Regions from separate parts of the Homo sapiens genome. Here region 1 is linked to region 2. The links are contacts of gene promoters, found by promoter capture Hi-C in human tissues and cell types (Jung and others, 2019). All regions are on one chromosome and are shown on one strand. The core of a region is centred on a gene start or on the middle of the fragment in contact, and the rest is flanking DNA. Distances in the headings are between cores, read along the strand shown. Region 1 has its middle 11 kb from the start of MIR4732. Region 2 holds the start of TRAF4 (TNF receptor associated factor 4).

The links. The method cuts DNA at HindIII sites, captures the fragments that hold promoters and counts their contacts. A contact is called where the count stands out against the background at its distance.
Region 1: a contact is called between a fragment that was not itself captured here and the fragment with the promoter of TRAF4 in region 2, in 1 of the 25 tissues and cell types used here (mesendoderm cells).

What each region holds. Positions count from the first base shown.
Region 1 is chr17:28,870,571-28,874,705 of GRCh38, reverse strand. No RefSeq gene overlaps it. Among named protein-coding and RNA genes, the nearest start is that of MIR4732, 11 kb to the right of the region's middle. RefSeq lists an enhancer at 3,070-3,139. The HindIII fragment of the contact is 4,288 bases long and covers 1-3,491 here.
Region 2 is chr17:28,741,761-28,746,093 of GRCh38, reverse strand. TRAF4 (TNF receptor associated factor 4) reads right to left here and starts at 2,083. Exons shown (of 7, transcript NM_004295.4): 1 at 1,839-2,083. The coding sequence starts at 1,981. It overlaps NEK8 (NIMA related kinase 8), which reads right to left. Exons shown (of 15, transcript NM_178170.3): 15 at 2,639-4,135. The coding sequence ends at 4,107. RefSeq lists silencers at 1,605-1,804, 1,825-2,234, 2,689-2,983 and enhancers at 2,689-2,983, 2,007-3,007, 4,143-4,302. The HindIII fragment of the contact is 18,595 bases long and covers 1-4,333 here.

The DNA.
Region 1 (4,135 bases), core at 98-2,597, 130 kb before region 2:
GCAGCTTCACTCCTGAGGCCAGCAAGACCACGAACCCACCGGGAGGAATGAACAACTCCGGACGGGAGGAACCAATAACTCCAGACGTGCCGCCCTAAGAGCTGTAACACTTACTGCGAAGGTCTGCAGCTTCACTCTTGAAGCCAGCCAGACCATGAACCCACCAGAAGGAAGAAACTCCGAACACGTCCAAACATCAGAAGGAACAAACTCCGGACACACCATCTTTAAGAACTGTAACACTCACTGCGAGGGTCTGCAGCTTCATTCTTGAAGTCAATGAGACCAAGAACCCACCAATTCTGGACACACCATGTTCATGCCACTGCATTTTGCCCTGGGTGACTGCATTTTGCCCTGGGTGACAGAGCAAGACCCTGTCTCAAAAAACAAAACAAAAAAAATTGTGATTAATACATAGAAAATAGGGAATTGAGTGGTTGCTTTTAAATTGGAAGTATAACTTACATAGCGAAAGGGGTACAAATCTTGTGAATTTTACATATAATAAAATTTCATAAATGCATATACCTTTCTAACCAGCGTGAAGATCAAAATCTGGAACATGTCCAAAAAAAGAAAATAAATTGCCTCCAAGATCTTCGTCCCATCTGGAAGAACGGAAGAACGGAGTTGTTATTTACTGAAATGGGAAAAACATTTGAGGGAGCAGACTTTTTTTTTTTCAAGATAGAGAGATAGTCTCTCTCTGTCGCCTAGGCTGGAATGCAGTGGCACCATCACGACTTACTGCAGCTTTGACTTCCCTAAGCTCAAGTGAACCTCCTACCTCAGCCTCCTGAGTAGCTGGGACTACAGACATGCACCACCATACCTGGCTAATTTTTGTTTGTTTGTTTGTTTTTTGAGATGGAGTCCCGCTCTGCTGGGCTGGAGTGCAGTGGCACTATCTCGGCTCACTGCAACCTCCACCTCCCAGGTTCAAGCGATTCTTCTGCCTCAGCCTCCCAAGTAGCTGAGACTACAATTGCATACCACCGCCTGGCTAATTTTTGTATTTTTAGTAGAGATGGGGTTTCACCATGTTGCCCAGGCTGGTCTCGAACTCCTGAGGCTCAAGCAATCCACCTGCCTCAGCCTCCCAAAGTGCTGGGATTACAGGCATGAGCCACCATGCCTGGCCCACTACTGGTCTTTTCACTGCTTCCTGTTGACCTTCAGGAAAAGGAGGCCTGAGTGGCTGCAATGAGACCCAACTAGGAGATGGTCCAGGTTGGCCTTAGTGTCAGGGACACTGACTTCAGCAAGAAGATGAGAGGGGCCTTGCTGAAAGAGATCTGAAGGGTGCTGGAGAGGAGGAAGGGGCAATGATGTGGGGGTAGGGAGTGAGGAGGGGATGCCTCAGCACCTGTACTAATGCCAGTGGACCCCTGGAATGGAGAAAGCCAGGCCTCTGTCCCCAGAGCCTGGAACCAGCCTCAGGAAGAGAGAGTGGAGAGTATAGAGCATTCTGCCTGAGCCTTCAGAGGCCTGCTAAGGCCCTGTTTACCATGAACTTCCATGAACCCAGGAAGGAAAGGGCTTAGTATATAGAATGGGCACCTGGAGTGTGCAGGTGATGCTGTTTCCTACCCTGTTGTGCTCATGACCCCACCAGCCTTAGGAATTCGATATAGAGGGTACCAGGCCTGCCCATCTTCCCTGCTGTGCCCAGTCCCTAGGCCTGAAGGCCCAGCACAGAGGGGGTTAAGGGCTCAGGAACGCTTGCCTCTGGGTGGGTGGGAACTGTCAGCAAGGAGCCTTGTCTGTCTTGATAATCCAGGCTGCCTATCTTTTCCACAGCAGCTGTGAAGCAAACAGGTTGTCCTGGCAGGGAGGGAGGAATGTAAAGGCCTGGCTGATGGCGGGAAGGATTTGAGGCAGTAGGGACACTCAGGCTCCACTCAACAGCCACCTTTAGAACTGTACCTGGCTGGGCGCAGTGGCTCACGCCTGTAATCCCAGCACTTTGGGAGGCCGAGGCAGGCGGATCACGAGGTCAGGAGATCAAGACCATCCTGGCTAACACGGTGAAACCCCATCTCTACTAAAAATACAAAAATTAGCCGGGCGTGGTGTCGGGCACCTGTAGTTCCAGCTACTCGGGAGGCTGAGGCAGGAGAATGGTGTGAACCTGGGAAGTGGAGCTTGCAGTGAGCCGAGATCACACCACTACACTCCAGCCTGGGGGACAAAGCCAGACTCCGTCTCAAAAAAAAAAAAAAAAGAAAGAAAAAAAAAAGAAAGAACTGTACCAGGAGACTGGAAAGGTCATGGCCCAAGTCTGGACTTGAGAGTCCCCACTGACCCAGAGAATAGGAACTGGAAGCTGATGAATAGAGTTAGGGAGGTGTTGAGAGGAAAATTTCCATTTCTGACTCAGTATGTGTCTCAACAGGGGTGCAAGGGGGACACTATCACGTGTACGTGCACGGGTATGAGTGAGCACGAGCGCCCACAGGTGTATGCCCCGTTGGAGAGAGTAAACAGGGAAAGCCCACTGCAAAGCCAGGAAGGAAGGAGCTTGGCATCTGTTGAGCTCCTGTTGTTCATGTGCCAGGCTCTAGGTTAGAACTATCCACCTTCACTGTCTCATTTCATCTTCACCAGCATGGAAAAGAAAGCATTTGAACCCCTTTTTTTTGAGACAGAATCTTGCTCTGTCGCCCAGGCTGGAGTGCAGTGGCACGATCTCGGCTCACTGCAACCTCCGCCTCCCCGGTTTCAAGCAATTCTCCTGCCTCAGCCTCCTCAGTAGCTGGGATTACAGGCCTGTGCCAACAAGCCCAGCTAATTTTTGTATTTTTAGTAGAGATGGAGTTTCACCATGTTGGTCAGGCTGGTCTCGAACTCCTGACCTCGTGATCTGCCCGCCTCAAGCTCCCAAAGTGCTGGGATTATAGGTGTGAACCACCGCGCTCGGCCTTTTTTTTTTTTTTTTTTGAAACAGAGTCTCACTCTGTCACCCAGCCTGGAGTGTAATGGCACTATCTCGGCTCACTGCAACTTCTGCCTCCTAGGTTCAAGAGATTCTCCTCCCTCAGCCTCTCGAGTAGCTGGGATTACAGGCGCCTACCACCACGCGTGGCTAATTTTTGTATTTTTAGTAGAGACAGGGTTTCGCCATGTCGTCCAGGCTGGTCTCAAACTCCTGACCTCAAGGGATCCGCCCACCACGGCCTTCAAACTGCTGGGATTACAGGCATGAGCCACTGAACCTGGCCTGAACCCCATTTTACTGTTGAGGAAGCCAAGACTCTAAGATCAGGTGCAGGGGCCAGAATCACTCAGCGGTAGTGTGGTGGAGCCCGGACTCTGACAAGTCAGTCAGAAGCTGTGCTTATTTCCTGCTAGCTCTCAGTACTCCTAGACAGGAAGCAAGAACCCTAATGTACAACCCCTGAACTGTGAAGGCGAAAGCTCTGGTTCAAGCCAAACATGGGCCTGTGATTTCAGGACAAGTGAGCTTCATGAGAAGGCTTGGCTCATAAACTGCAGGAGGTCAGAGAAAGGAGAGGGGATTGTTGCTGGATTGCAGCTGCCCAAGAGCAGTGTGTGGAAGAGGCTAAACAAGGGATTAGATGACTAGGCATGGTGGCTCATGCCTGTAATCCCAGAACTTTTAAGGGCTGAGGTGGGAGGTTTGCTTGAGGCCAGGAGTTTGAGATCAGGCTGGGTTGCACAGTGAGAACCCCCATCTCTATTTTTTTTTTTTGGTCACTGTTGTCAGCCTGGGTTGGAGTGCAGTGGCGTGATCTCGGCTCACTGCAACCTCCGCCTCCCAGGTTCCAGCAATTCTCCTGTCTCAGCCTCCCGAGTAGCTGAGATTACAGGCGCCTGCCACCATGCCCAGCTAATTTTTCTATTTTTGGTAGAGACACGGTTTCACCACGTTGGCCAAGCTGGTCTTGAACTCCTGACCTCAAGTGATTTGCCTGCTTCGGCCTCCCAAAGTGCTAGGATTATAGGCGTATGCCACTGTGCCTGGCCTCTATCTCTATTTAAAAAAAAAAATTTTTTTTTCTGAGATGGAGTTTTGCTCTCGTTGCCCAGGCTAGAGTGCAGTGGTCCAGCCTTGGCTCACTGCAACCTCCACCTTCTGGTTTGAAGAGATTCTCCTGCCTCAGCCTCCCAA
Region 2 (4,333 bases), core at 834-3,333:
AGCACCCACCTCCTCCCCTTGATCCCACTACCACTGGCCATGCTTCAATGCCAAGGACAATACAACCACAGGCACTGAAGGGGTGTGTCTGCCCACAGGGCAACCAGCCTTCCTGGGCCAACCTAACAGCTCAGGCAGGAGTGGGGAAAGAGGGGTGGGCCCAGGGGGAGGGGGTCCACTTGGCTGCTTCAGGAATGTGCTGACTGAGTGGTTTTGGAGAAAGGGAGGGGACAGAGGCAAGTCCCTAGGCTTCAGGCAGAAGCTTAGCCTGCAGCTTGGGGCCCAGCCAGGGCTGTGGACACCCTCACTTGTGCTTGTACCGTGGCGGGTGAGGAGCAGGGACCACCCAACCACCTCTCTCCCCTTCAGAAGCCTCAGCAGCACAGCTCAGGCACTGGGGGATGGGGGACAGGCAGGGCAGAGGCTGCTCCAGGCTGTGCAGTGGAGGCCAAGGCCCAGGGAAGAAGACAGGATGGGGGGAGGGGGTGTGGGAGTGGGAGAGGAAGAGGGGATTTCCGGGAGGGGGAGTGGCAGAGAGGGGGGCCAAGAAGGTGGTGGAAGGAATCCGGCCTGACGGCCCCCTCCCCCGCTCCTTTCCCGAGGCAGTCAGGGTGGGTCAGCTGTGGGGGGGTCGGGGGGCTCAGCTGGCCTCATCTGGAACCCAGAGGGCCGGGGAAGAGCAGTGGCGGAGACAATGGGGCTGTGTCTGTAGGAGAGTAAATGTGTACACTGCCGAGGGGGAGGGGGCAGTCCTGCAGCTTGTGCCGGAGCATATGTGAGGGCAGGAGCCGGCCCAGGCTGTGGGGAACAGAAAACAAAGGGCCTGCTGAGATTTCCGCCAGTAGGAGCTACGGAGGACCGAGCGAGGGAGGGAGGCACGGCGGGAGGGAGCACCGGAGGCAGGCGTCTCAGAGGTACTATCCCTGCCAGGCCCTCGATCCCCTCGTCCCAGCAAACAGCCAGGCAGTGGCCGACTCGGCCTTCCCCTGCGCTCTGGGGGCATGACCTCCGAAGAGTCGGGGCTCCTTCACCCTGCTTCCCACACCCGGGCCTGAGGGGTTCCCTGCGTGAGCAGGAGATTCAAGACATACAGGGCGCCCAGAAACTTGATGGATGCCCAAGAGCCAAGGGCTAACCTGCGTCCTGAGAGGGCAGCGGGAGTTCAGTAACAACACGAGTGCGACCCCCTTCTTCATGACTTATGGACCACCCGCCTTACTCCAGCCCCCGGGAGAGAGGGGAGCCGCCTAGAGGGGTCCTTCTTCGGGGGAGGATTCAGTCCTTCCTCCATTGTGTGATCATAAGCAGTCCGGGTTTAAATCCTAGTTAAGCCTTTAAGTAACTATGTGACCCTGGGCAAGTCGCAGCCTTTCTTTGAATCTCGTTTCATGATCTGTGAAATGGGAGAACAATAGCTACCGTTCTCTGAACGTTCGAAGAATCAGAAGAGGTTAGATGGGGGAAAGCTCCGGAGGCTCAAACTGCCACGCGGGAGCGGGTTTTGTCCTCTTCCCCCAGGATTCAAAGTTCAAGGCTGAGGCCGCGCCGGCTCTCAGGTGACGGGGAAGGGCCTCTTCCCCTCCTGACCCCACGAGAAGGCGCCGAGGTCTTCCGCCCCGGGCCGGGCAGTTGGGACCCGCCCGGACCCCTCGGATTCCTGCGGGGGGGGCCTCCCTCGGGGCTTGACGTCATCCCTCCCCGTGACGTCACGGGGCGCCCCTGAGGTCACAGGGTCGCAGCGCAGACAAAGGCCCGCCTTGCCCCGGGCCCGAGACCCTCCCCAGGCGGCGCCCCCCGCCCCGCCCCGCCCCCGCTGTCCCCTGCTCCCCGGCCAGCACCTGAGGAACTCCTGCAGGCAGGTATCGCAGAAACGGTGGCCGCAGGTGGAAACCTGCACAGGCTCGCGCATGGGCTTCCCGCACAGTGGGCACAGCAGCCGTCGCTTGGGCTTCTCCAGGAACTTGTAGTCGAAGCCAGGCATGGCGGGCGAGCGGCCGGCACGGGCGAGCGGGGCCAGGCACGCGGCGGCCCCACAGCCCGCGCCTCGCTGGAGCGGCGCTCCCGGCTCCGGGCGGCGCCGACTGGCGGTCGCGGCCAGGGCTCGGCTGTGAAGCCCGCCCTCCGGAAGAGAGGGCGGACCGCGGCCGCGCGGTCCTAATGCGCGCCCTCGCGGCCCCGCCCACCCCCGAGTGCATGGTTTTTGGGTCTGGTGACCGCCAGTCTCGCCCACCCACGGGATCATGGGCTTTTCTTTCCCCTGGGGGACAGAGATCGTGGCTCCGCTTCTCCCCAGAGCCCGCGGGCCCCGGGGAAGTGCGGGTCGGAAAAGGGGACGGGCCGCGCCACAAAGGTTTTCTTCTCCAGAGGCAACAGCTCGGCCTCCGGGGCCGTGAGCAGCCCAGGAACCGTGGCCCCAGCTTCCAGGTGCTAGGCAGCCGAAGCCTGGCAACCAGCTCCGGGGAGCCCAGCTGGGGCGGGGAGGCTGGACTGGGCGCTGGGCCAGAGGAACCTCGGCCCCAGCCTCCGGCTGCGCCCACATTCCTCCCTTGGCCGCAGCCCTGCCACCGAGGTCGGGCCCAGCCCAGTCCTGGGGTGCCTGGTCGCCACCCCCACCCTTGAAGACACCACACTCCAGGCAGGCAGCTGATATTTTTATTGGCCTTCCTGTCCTCTGGGAAACCGGTCTGGTCCCACCAGCTACCCATTCTCTCAACTGTTTCTGGGGAAAGGCATGGGGGGGACGGGCAATCTCCAGCGCGGATCTTTTCTGCAGCACTTAGTGACTCCTGCCCTCCTGCTGGGGAAGAGAGGCAAGCCGACGTCTAGCAAATCCTGCCTCAGGATGAAAGTGTAGGGGAGGTGGCAGCACTCCCGGGGACCGCCCAGCCCCGGGCTATGCAGAAGCTAGGCAGGCCTAATGGCCAGTCCAGGCAGGCCCTGGCTTGCCCTGCTCCAAAGTATGGAGATAGAGTCCCGGTAAGCACCAAATACTTTTTTTTTTTTTTTTTTTTTTTTTTTTTTGAGAGGGAGACTTGCTCTGTCATCCAGGCTGGAGTGCAGTGGTGCGATCTCGGCTCACTGCAAACTTCACCTCCCGGGTTCAAGGGATTCTCTTGCCTTAGCCTCCAGAGTAGCTGGGATTACAGGCGCCCGTCACCATGCCTGGTTAATTTTTGTATTTTTAGTAGAGACGGGGTTTCACCATGTTGGCCAGGCTGGCCTCAGTCTACTGACCTCAAGTGATCCGCCCGCCTTGGCCTCCCAAAGTGCTGGAATTACAGGCGTGAGCCACCGCACCCAGCCTTATTTTCTTCTTTTTTTTTTTTTTTGGTGGAGACAGCGGTCTCGCTATGGTCCCCAGGCTGGTCTCCCAACTCCTGGCCACAAGGGATCAAGGGATCCTCCTGGCCAAAGCACTGCCTATGCAGGTGTGAGCCACCGCCGCCGGCCCAGACTTATTTTCTAACTGGGCTAGGGGAAAGGGTAGGGTCTGTGTGGAGCTACAGCTGCCTTCAGCCTTTTTTGTTTTTTTTTTTTTTTTGAGACGGAGTCTGGTTCTGTCGCCCAGGCTGGAGGGGTTTACGCCATTCTCCTGCCTCAGCCTCCTGAGCAGCTGGGACTACAGGCGCGTGCCACCACGCCCAGCTAATTTTTTTGTATTTTTAGTAGAGATGGGGTTTCACCACGTTAGCCAGGATGGTCTCGATCTCCTGACCTCGTGATCCGCCCGCCTCAGCCTCCCAAAGTGCTGGGATTACAGGCGTGAGCCACTGCGCCCGGCTGCCTTCAGCCTTTTTATGGCAAGGCTCTGGAGGCCACCCTGCTTCCAAAGGCTAGGTCTGCCTTCTAACTCTAGCCAGGCTGGACCCTGGGGACACTGACTGAAGGGAGGAAGGGGTAGGAAGGGCAAAGAGGTGGTAGGAGAACAAAGTGGTTGAGGTTTCCATATCCAAGGCCAAAAGCAGAGCAGGGGTTTTGCCAGCCCTGATACCCCATGATGACACAATCCAGGAGACAGCTGCAAGTCATGCCTTGGGCACCTGCACTTTTCAGAGCATTCAGAGGAGAAGCAATATCAGGGTGGTCCAGAGGTGAATCCGGGTGCCTCAGGGGGGGACCGGCTCATCTGTGACCGCTGGAGGGTACCGAAGAGAAACCCTTGCAGCTTCTGAGGGCAGTGCCTCCAGAAATCATCACCCACCTCCCACTCCCACTGGGCCCTGGATTCTGGACCCTGTTAGGCCAGAAAGAGAGTTTCAGCATCAACGGGACTCAGCAGTAGGAGAAAGAATGCATGTGAGCCCTGGGGAGCAGTGGAGGCAGCCCTTCCATG